2 separate regions of the Homo sapiens genome follow, and region 2 is linked to region 1. Evidence: promoter capture Hi-C in 16 types of primary human blood cells and fetal thymus (Javierre and others, 2016). All regions are on one chromosome and are shown on one strand. Each heading gives the region's core, a stretch centred on a gene start or on the middle of the fragment in contact. The rest is flanking DNA. Distances are from core to core; before and after follow the strand shown.

Region 1 (3,903 bases), core at 1,237-3,736:
ACGCACACTCGGCCCCCGGGGCTCCGCCAGGGGAGGGGGTTCCTGGGAAGGGGGAGGGGGCCGGCCTAGGTGGGGGAGGGGCCCAGCGGAGGCCTCACGGCGCCGCTCCAGGGCCTCCCAGGCCTCCCCAGCGCCAGCTTTCGGTGAGCCTCGGGCATTCCTAGCTGGAGAGTTTGGCTGGGGGTCGCTACAGACTCTTCAGAGCGGCTGCAGCAGGACCTCAGGGTGATCGCGGGACCGCGGGGCGGGGCGAGTGGTGGGATCCTGGCCCGGACAGAGCCCCGGAAAGCCAGAGGGAAGGTCGGTGCCACTGTAGGTGGGGTCGCCGTCCCCAGATGCAGCCGCTGCACTGTCGCCGCCAGGTTTCTCGGTCAAATAACCCAGGCCTGAGTGTTTCAAACTCTTCAGGCCTCGGACCCCTGGACCAGCTATGGATGGACTAATGAAATGGACTAATGTCTAAAACGCACACATTTAGATGTACACATACTCTTACAAGGACAAAAGTATGTGTCTACACACACACACACACACACACACACACACACGCGCGCGCGCGCGCGCGCGACTTTGCGAATGTATTCACGGATTCCTAGGCCGGTACCTGGGTTCCCGGCTAAGGAAAGCTGCCCTGGTTATTATCTGGTCACCTCACCGGCTGCGCAAACGTGTCCACAACGGGTCCCTCCCCGAGAGGCCACATCTCGCCTAAGGTGGAGCCAGCAGGTATTTGCCTGTGGAAAACTGCAGTGGATCCTGCCCCGTCTGCGTAGACTGCGCAGCTCGGAGTCAAAGATTCGTTCTGGCCAGAGAGGAGGTACTAAGAGAGGTGCGACCTAGCCAAGAACGAGGTCGTGGAGAAAACCCTGTGGGGGCGGCGCTCACATATGCGGTGATGAGGAGTTGTGAGGGCCCTGGGGTCGGCCCCGAAAAGTAGGGATAACGGTCGCAGAGGCCATACTGCTTCCGCCGGTCCCGAATCCGCACTGCCAGGAGAGATCCGGCCTTCAAACGCTGCTCCCAACGTTCAACAACGAAGTGCCCTGCGACCGGTGTGCGCAGTGGGCGGGCGCCTGCATGGGTCAATGTTGGATGTACGCGCCCACCACGCGGTTGTACGGGTGGGAATGTCACCCGTGGCTAGTGCATGCTCTGTCTTTTCCTTCAGAAAACGACCTTCAGGAATCAGCCTGAGTGTTCGCGCCCGAGCCCGATTGGAAGCAGGTGCGTGGTCGCTTCACTCTCCCCGTGCACACCTTGAGTTATAGCTCTCGCTGCGCACAGAGGGCACCACACGGGGCCCGACACACACACACACACACACACACACACACACACACACACACACACCATCACTTCATGGGGGGGAAACTGAGGCTGCCGGAAGACAGAAAACGAAGACTGATCACAGAAGAGGGGGCTTCAATCACAGGTGCTCGCAGACACCCCAACTCCCTCACGCGTTACTCAGCACTCCTTAACTTAGGAGACGTGCGCTTCCGAGAGATGAGAAGAAACTAAAAAAGTGGTTGGCAGGGCGAAGAGAGGAAGCCGGTATTTCGGAAGAAGGAGACTTTCGTCTCCGGTACCGGATAGGGCGAAAATTCGTTGGGTCGCGGGTGGAGAATCCGGGGTCCGCCCGCGCGGTGCCGCCCTGTGCTCAGCGAAAGGTGCGCTCACCTTCCTGGCCCCGAGGATCCGCTCCTCCCGGCCGCTGGAAAGCTCAGGGCGGGGCCCGGGCCTGCGGAGAACTCCAGGTTCCTTCCGAGTCTTCCGGTGAAGGCGGGCGCGGGTAGGGGGTCCCCGCGTTTCCCCAGCGCAAGGCCGCGTCCCGCTCCCGCCCGCGCCGGCCCCAGCAGGGCTCGGCCATGGCTCCACTCACCAGCTCCCGCCACCTGGGATCCGCTCCCGGACCTCGGCCGCCCGAGCCTCCCGACTCGCCCGCCCACCGGCCTCGCTTTCCAGTGCCTGCTGTCTCTTTCCGGGGCGCAGGGACCCCCAGGCGGCGCCACGACCCGGAGCTGGGTCGGAGGCCAGGCTGGGGCTCGGGCCAGAGCGGCCGGGCCTCTGGGCGCGGGAGAAGGAGGGCGCCCCCTCTCCGCTCGGGGTCGTGTCAATGCTTTGCACTTGGGGCCGGCGTGCGGCTGCGGGTCCTTCCCCAAGGCCCCGGGACCCGGGCTCCCCTCGCCTCAGGCCCTTTCGGCGGGTCAGGTCGGCCCTCCGCGCTCTCCAGTCCGGCGCAGGCAGCCGCAGGCGCGGGCGGGCGGTGGGGGCCGGGGCAGGAGGAGGGGTCTCGGGGCCCGGCGGCCCGTCATTGGTTAATATTTTATTCTGTTGACATGTTTTCTTACTGCTGAGGCTTCCGACACCTTCTCCCAGGCCCCCCCTCCCGGCCGGAGCTTGGCCTGAGCTGTCAAAACCCCGCCCCCGGAGACCCACAATTGGTCCAAAAAGCGTAAAATCAGCAATCAAGGGGGGCCTGGCTCGTTAGCGCAGGGGATCCGAGCTGGGCAGGACATGTGAGATAGTCACAGTTTTCCAGAGATCACGACAAGATCTAACCAGTCGCGCGTGGTCCCCGGCGCCGGAGCGGGCCAGCTCAGCCCGGCCCAGCCCGGCCCCGCGCAGAGCCCCCGCCGCCCCCGCGCACAGAGCCGGGTGCCCCTTGCGGTGCGCCGGACGGGAAGCCCCGAGGAGCAGCTGCTGCGCCCGCCACCCGGGTCGTCCGTCCACCGCGCGCGCCGCCGCCCGGGCCGGGGGTCCGAGCCGCGCGCCCCCGGCCCCGGCCCCGGCCCCCGGGCGCCTGGGCCGGATGTCCCGATGAGAGAGCCGGCGCTGGCGGCCAGCGCCATGGCTTACCACCCGTTCCACGCGCCACGGCCCGCCGACTTCCCCATGTCCGCCTTTCTGGCGGCGGCGCAGCCCTCCTTCTTCCCGGCACTCGCGCTGCCGCCCGGCGCGCTGGCCAAGCCGCTGCCCGACCCGGGCCTGGCGGGGGCGGCGGCCGCGGCGGCGGCGGCGGCAGCAGCGGCCGAGGCGGGGCTGCACGTCTCGGCACTGGGCCCGCACCCGCCCGCCGCGCATCTGCGCTCCCTCAAGAGCCTGGAGCCCGAGGACGAGGTGGAGGACGACCCCAAGGTGACGCTGGAGGCCAAGGAGCTGTGGGACCAGTTCCACAAGCTAGGCACGGAGATGGTCATCACCAAGTCCGGGAGGTAGGGCTGCCGGCCGGCTGGAAGGCGCGCGGGCGGGCGGGCGGGCTGGGGCACGGGACTGCACGGATCAGAGCAGAGCTGGGGACTCCCGGCTCCCGGCTCCCGGCTCCAGGTTCTGGCCCTGACGCCACGCTTCGCTCCCACGGACAACCAAGTTGACTTTTCTCGTTTGGCACCGGAGCGATTTTTTTTTAAAACAAAAACGCTAAAATCCTCCGAATGAAATAAAACGAAAACATACTGCTAAAGAATAGCCCCAACCGTTCTGAGTCCCAGCGCAGAGGAGGCCCCGCGGCTTGGCCCTGGCGGTCTCCTCCGCCCCGCGCTCTCGCTCTTCTGCGTCCGGGTCCGTCTCCGAGCTCGGGGGAAATTCAGCCTCTCTCAGACTCTGCTCCGACCCCGAAGCCCCTAGTGGGACCTGGGCCCAGCTAACCCCACGCTGGTTGCTCGGTTCCTGGCAGCGAGCCCCGGGTCAGCCGAGCCCTCCGCCTCACCGGGCTGGGAGCCCTTTCTCCACCGCGGGCATCCGAGCCCTGGACGCATCCGCCGCCCCAGGCCTTAAAGCCTGAAGAAAGCCACAGCCCCGGCCCCTCCACCCTTCGACTCAGCCACCGAGAATCCAGGCCTCGGGTTCACCCTCTTCCCCCGAACTGCACGGCCAGGATGTCTTATCAGGCTCTGTAGCCCA
Region 2 (3,646 bases), core at 1,124-3,623, 330 kb before region 1:
TGATGGAGAGAAGAAGGCATATGTTCGACTGGCTCCTGGTTACGATGCTTTGGATGTTGCCAACAAAATTGGGATCATCTAAACTGAGTCCAGCTGCCTAATTCTGAATATATATATATATATATATATATATATATATATCTTTTCACCATTTAAAAAAAATAGAAAGGAAGCTTTTTTGTTGTTGTTTAACTTGTCTTTTTTGTTATTCACATGAGAATTTTTTTGAATGTATAGTTCTATTTGTGTAATTTCAGATGATTCAATATCAAAAGGAAGATTCTTCCATGAAATTGCCTTTGTAATATAAGAATGTATTAGTACAAACTAAGAAAATATATGCTATATAAAAAGAGCAAAAACTTAGTTTATTTTTACCTTTTTGTGCCCAAAGCATTTGAGAATGAATTTTAAACTAGAATGTTGGCTATTGATTATGGGCCCTTCCCACAGATAATTTATCCTGTCTCCTAGGCTGGCCTTCTGTATTTACACAGGCAGCCTGGTAACATTAGAAAGAATTACTTGTCACAAAGCTTTTCAATACTATATGTAGACTGACTAAAATCAAGAGACTTACTGATTTCTTTGTATGAAAGTTGTGTGACGCTGGCAGGTCATATCTGTAAAACAGAAGCCACCTAAGGTCATTTCCAAACACTTAACCACCTTTGACTAAAACAACAACAACAACAACTACAACAAAAACTAAGAAAAGTATTAAATACTGGTAAGCTGAACATTTTAGATCTGTCCCTTTAACTTATGCATATACTGGCTTGATATGTCCCCCAACATCAGCCATGGAAAACAGAGCCTGGCTCTTCTGCTATAATGGCCATTTATACTGAAATTTGAGGTTATAGTGAAGAATTTAGAAGGATAACAAGTGGACAAAAAAAGTAAATCCTATGAAAATGATAGTACCTTTCTATTTTAAATTTCCTAATAATTTATAGCTAACTTAATCTCATAATAACCATGCTTATTTCAGAATTTTCTTGTCTAGATTTTAGAAATGGCAATAAGTAACTAATTATTTTCCTCCTAAGCTCTCAAATGAAAACCAGTTTTTCATATTTTTTCCTTTTAAAGAATAATGTAGATTCTCCAAACTTTTACTACTGATCTATTTTAGAGGAATGGCAGTGAGTCTACTCCTGTATAATGCAGCTCTCAAATTTTAATGTGTAATAAAATCACCTAGGGATCTTGTTGAAATGCAGATTGTAATTCAGTAGGGCTGGGTGGGTGGAGCCTGAAGTTATTTATTTCTAACAAGCTCTGCGAGGGATGTCAATGTTAATGGTCTGAGGACCACATTTGGAGGAACAGCGTTCTGGCTTGGTGGTATACTGTTGGGACTGTTCTAAGGTATTCCATACTACATATTGTAATTCCTAAAACTGTATAGAGAATCCAATACTAAATATAATAGGAAGACCAACAGATTTTAATAAATATATTACATTACCAATTATTATGAACAGTAATATATCTAGTTGTATGTTTAACACCACAGTGCCAATTAATGATTAATTTATTGTGAAAAAAATATGTTCTCTTATTGCACTCTTCTTTCAGACTTTTCAAAATTATTTGGATTATAGTTAGCTTCTAATTATAAGCTTTTCCTGTTTTGATGTTTGTGCTTTTACCCAATTTAGTAATAAAAATGTATCAAACATGGAAAAAATGGTGAGGCAGAGGAAGGATATTTATTTGATAATGAAAAATATTATCCCACCAGATTTATTTTTTATATTGCCCATCTTCTGATGGCTTCCAAGTATGCTTAATTAGAAAACTATTTTTGGTGAAAAAAGGGGATGGAAATTCTTATAATCTCTTTAGGATTTTGGGGTGCATATTTATGGTACTATTTCTAGATGTATATTTGGAATCTTTATTACTTCCTTTGGAAAGTTAATGAGGGCAGAGAGGATCTTTCTCCCTTCTCACTGTGGAAAATTCCAAACATACACAAAACTAGAAAATAATAGTATAGTGAGCCTCCATGTACCTATCAGCCAGCTATAACAATGATCAACTAATGACCAATCCTGTTTTCATCTGTAATTCTACCTCCCACCTTCATCCCTGCACTGGGTTATTTTGAAGCTAATCCCAGACATTATAATATATTATCCCTATTTTGATGATGGATAAATAAGTGTCCAGCCATTCTAGTGCCGTTACTTACTTAGTACAGAATCCAAAACTCCAACCACCCAGTAAATACTTATTGAGTACTTGTTCTGTGACACGTACTAGTCTAGGCTCAGCATATATAAAACACAACATAAACTTTTGGAGAAATTCACATTAGGTACTAGCTAGTTACGTAAGGCATGGTTACTCACTTCTACTTAAAAATTGCTAATTGCTTTCCATCATATTACTCGAGCTTTATTACCAAAAAAAAAAAAAAAAAAGAAGAAAGGAAAAGCCCACAGTAATCTGCTGGTCCTACTTCCTTTGCCTTACTGACTTAACCTTCCACTCACAACATGGCTTATCCCACCCAACCACAGTGGCCTCCTAGCTGTTACTTATTCCCTTTATGTTTACATCTCAAAATCTTTGTACTTAACATTCCCTTGGTCACACCTCTCCTTCAGATATTTGCATAACATATTACCTCACCTCTTTAAAATCTTCTCTGCCCTCATCTGCTTTCCAGCCTCTACATATTTTCCATATTCACATTTTTCACTAGTATTTAAGGGGTGGGAATTTCAAGGATCCTCTTGTTCTCTTCTGTATTAAGAATTAATATAGAATTTAGTGGTGGGAAGATAACTTAGCCTTTTGAAAATATCATTACTTATCAGCCTTTCAATGTATATCAATTATTTCCAAAAGAATGCTGAAATAATAGTTATTGTGATATTCTTTTCTTCTTGATATAATTTGTCATCACAAGAATGTAGGTGTATGCTTTTGTGATCATTTGTGTTTTGTACAAATGCCACCATGCCGCTTGGCTGTAGAACTATGATTTTGAAGAACTAGCAGCTAAAAGTTTTGATTACTGCAGATCTTACACTTTAATACTGTGTATGCCTCTGCTGAGTAATTCACTGAATTAGCATTTCTCCTCTTGCAGCAAGTTAAGATAAGCTTTTTGTGAGTCTGTGTCTTTTAAAATCTTGCCCTAGGTTATGCTTTGTCTACTTTATTTGTATCTGTTTCACTAAGATACAGTTTTTCAAAATACTACCTTGTTCTAGCAAGAGCTCAGTGAGGTTGGCATTCTCTTTCACTGCTTGGGTAAGTGTATAACTCTTTCTGGGAACATATATTAAGAAATTTATATATTTACATCCTCTGATTTCATATGTAGGAATCTAACTCAAGGAAATTTTTGTATGTTGATGTGTATATATAAATGTCTTTTGGTGGTAGAAATTATGAGGGTTTTCAGCTTCTCATTCTTTTCTATTTCTTCCACACTTCTTTAATGATCATCTCTTACTTTCTTACTTTTCTTTCTACTTACCTCCCCTCTTTTTCTCTGTTCCTCCCAGTACTTCATTGCTTGATTTCTCTGAGTATTAAAATGGTAGGCCAGGCGTGGTGGTTCATGCCTGTAATCCCAGCACTCTGAGAGCCAAAGCCAGAGGATCACTTGAGGCCAGGAGTT

Evidence for each region. Contacts are between HindIII fragments. The CHiCAGO score rates a contact against its expected background, and 5 or more counts as called.
Region 2: a fragment that was not itself captured here is called in contact with the fragment with the promoter of TBX2 in region 1 in 2 of 17 cell types (megakaryocytes and total CD4 T cells); the score reaches 6.1 in megakaryocytes.

The regions. Positions count from the first base shown.
Region 1 is chr17:61,397,357-61,401,259 of GRCh38, forward strand. It overlaps TBX2 (T-box transcription factor 2), which reads left to right and starts at 2,487. Exons shown (of 7, transcript NM_005994.4): 1 at 2,487-3,215. The coding sequence starts at 2,821. It overlaps TBX2-AS1 (TBX2 antisense RNA 1), which reads right to left and starts at 2,250. Exons shown (of 2, transcript NR_125751.1): 1 at 1,883-2,250. RefSeq lists an enhancer at 1-323, promoters at 1,444-2,704, 2,324-2,571 and a cis regulatory region at 2,560-2,571. The HindIII fragment of the contact is 11,976 bases long and covers 1-3,903 here.
Region 2 is chr17:61,070,260-61,073,905 of GRCh38, forward strand. The region is part of intron 19 of BCAS3 (BCAS3 microtubule associated cell migration factor); the gene reads left to right. BCAS3-AS1 (BCAS3 antisense RNA 1) reads right to left here. Exons shown (of 6, transcript NR_186507.1): 3 at 581-623. It also overlaps the pseudogene RPL23AP74. Among named protein-coding and RNA genes, the nearest start is that of BCAS3-AS1, 64 kb to the right of the region's middle. The HindIII fragment of the contact is 1,495 bases long and covers 1,627-3,121 here.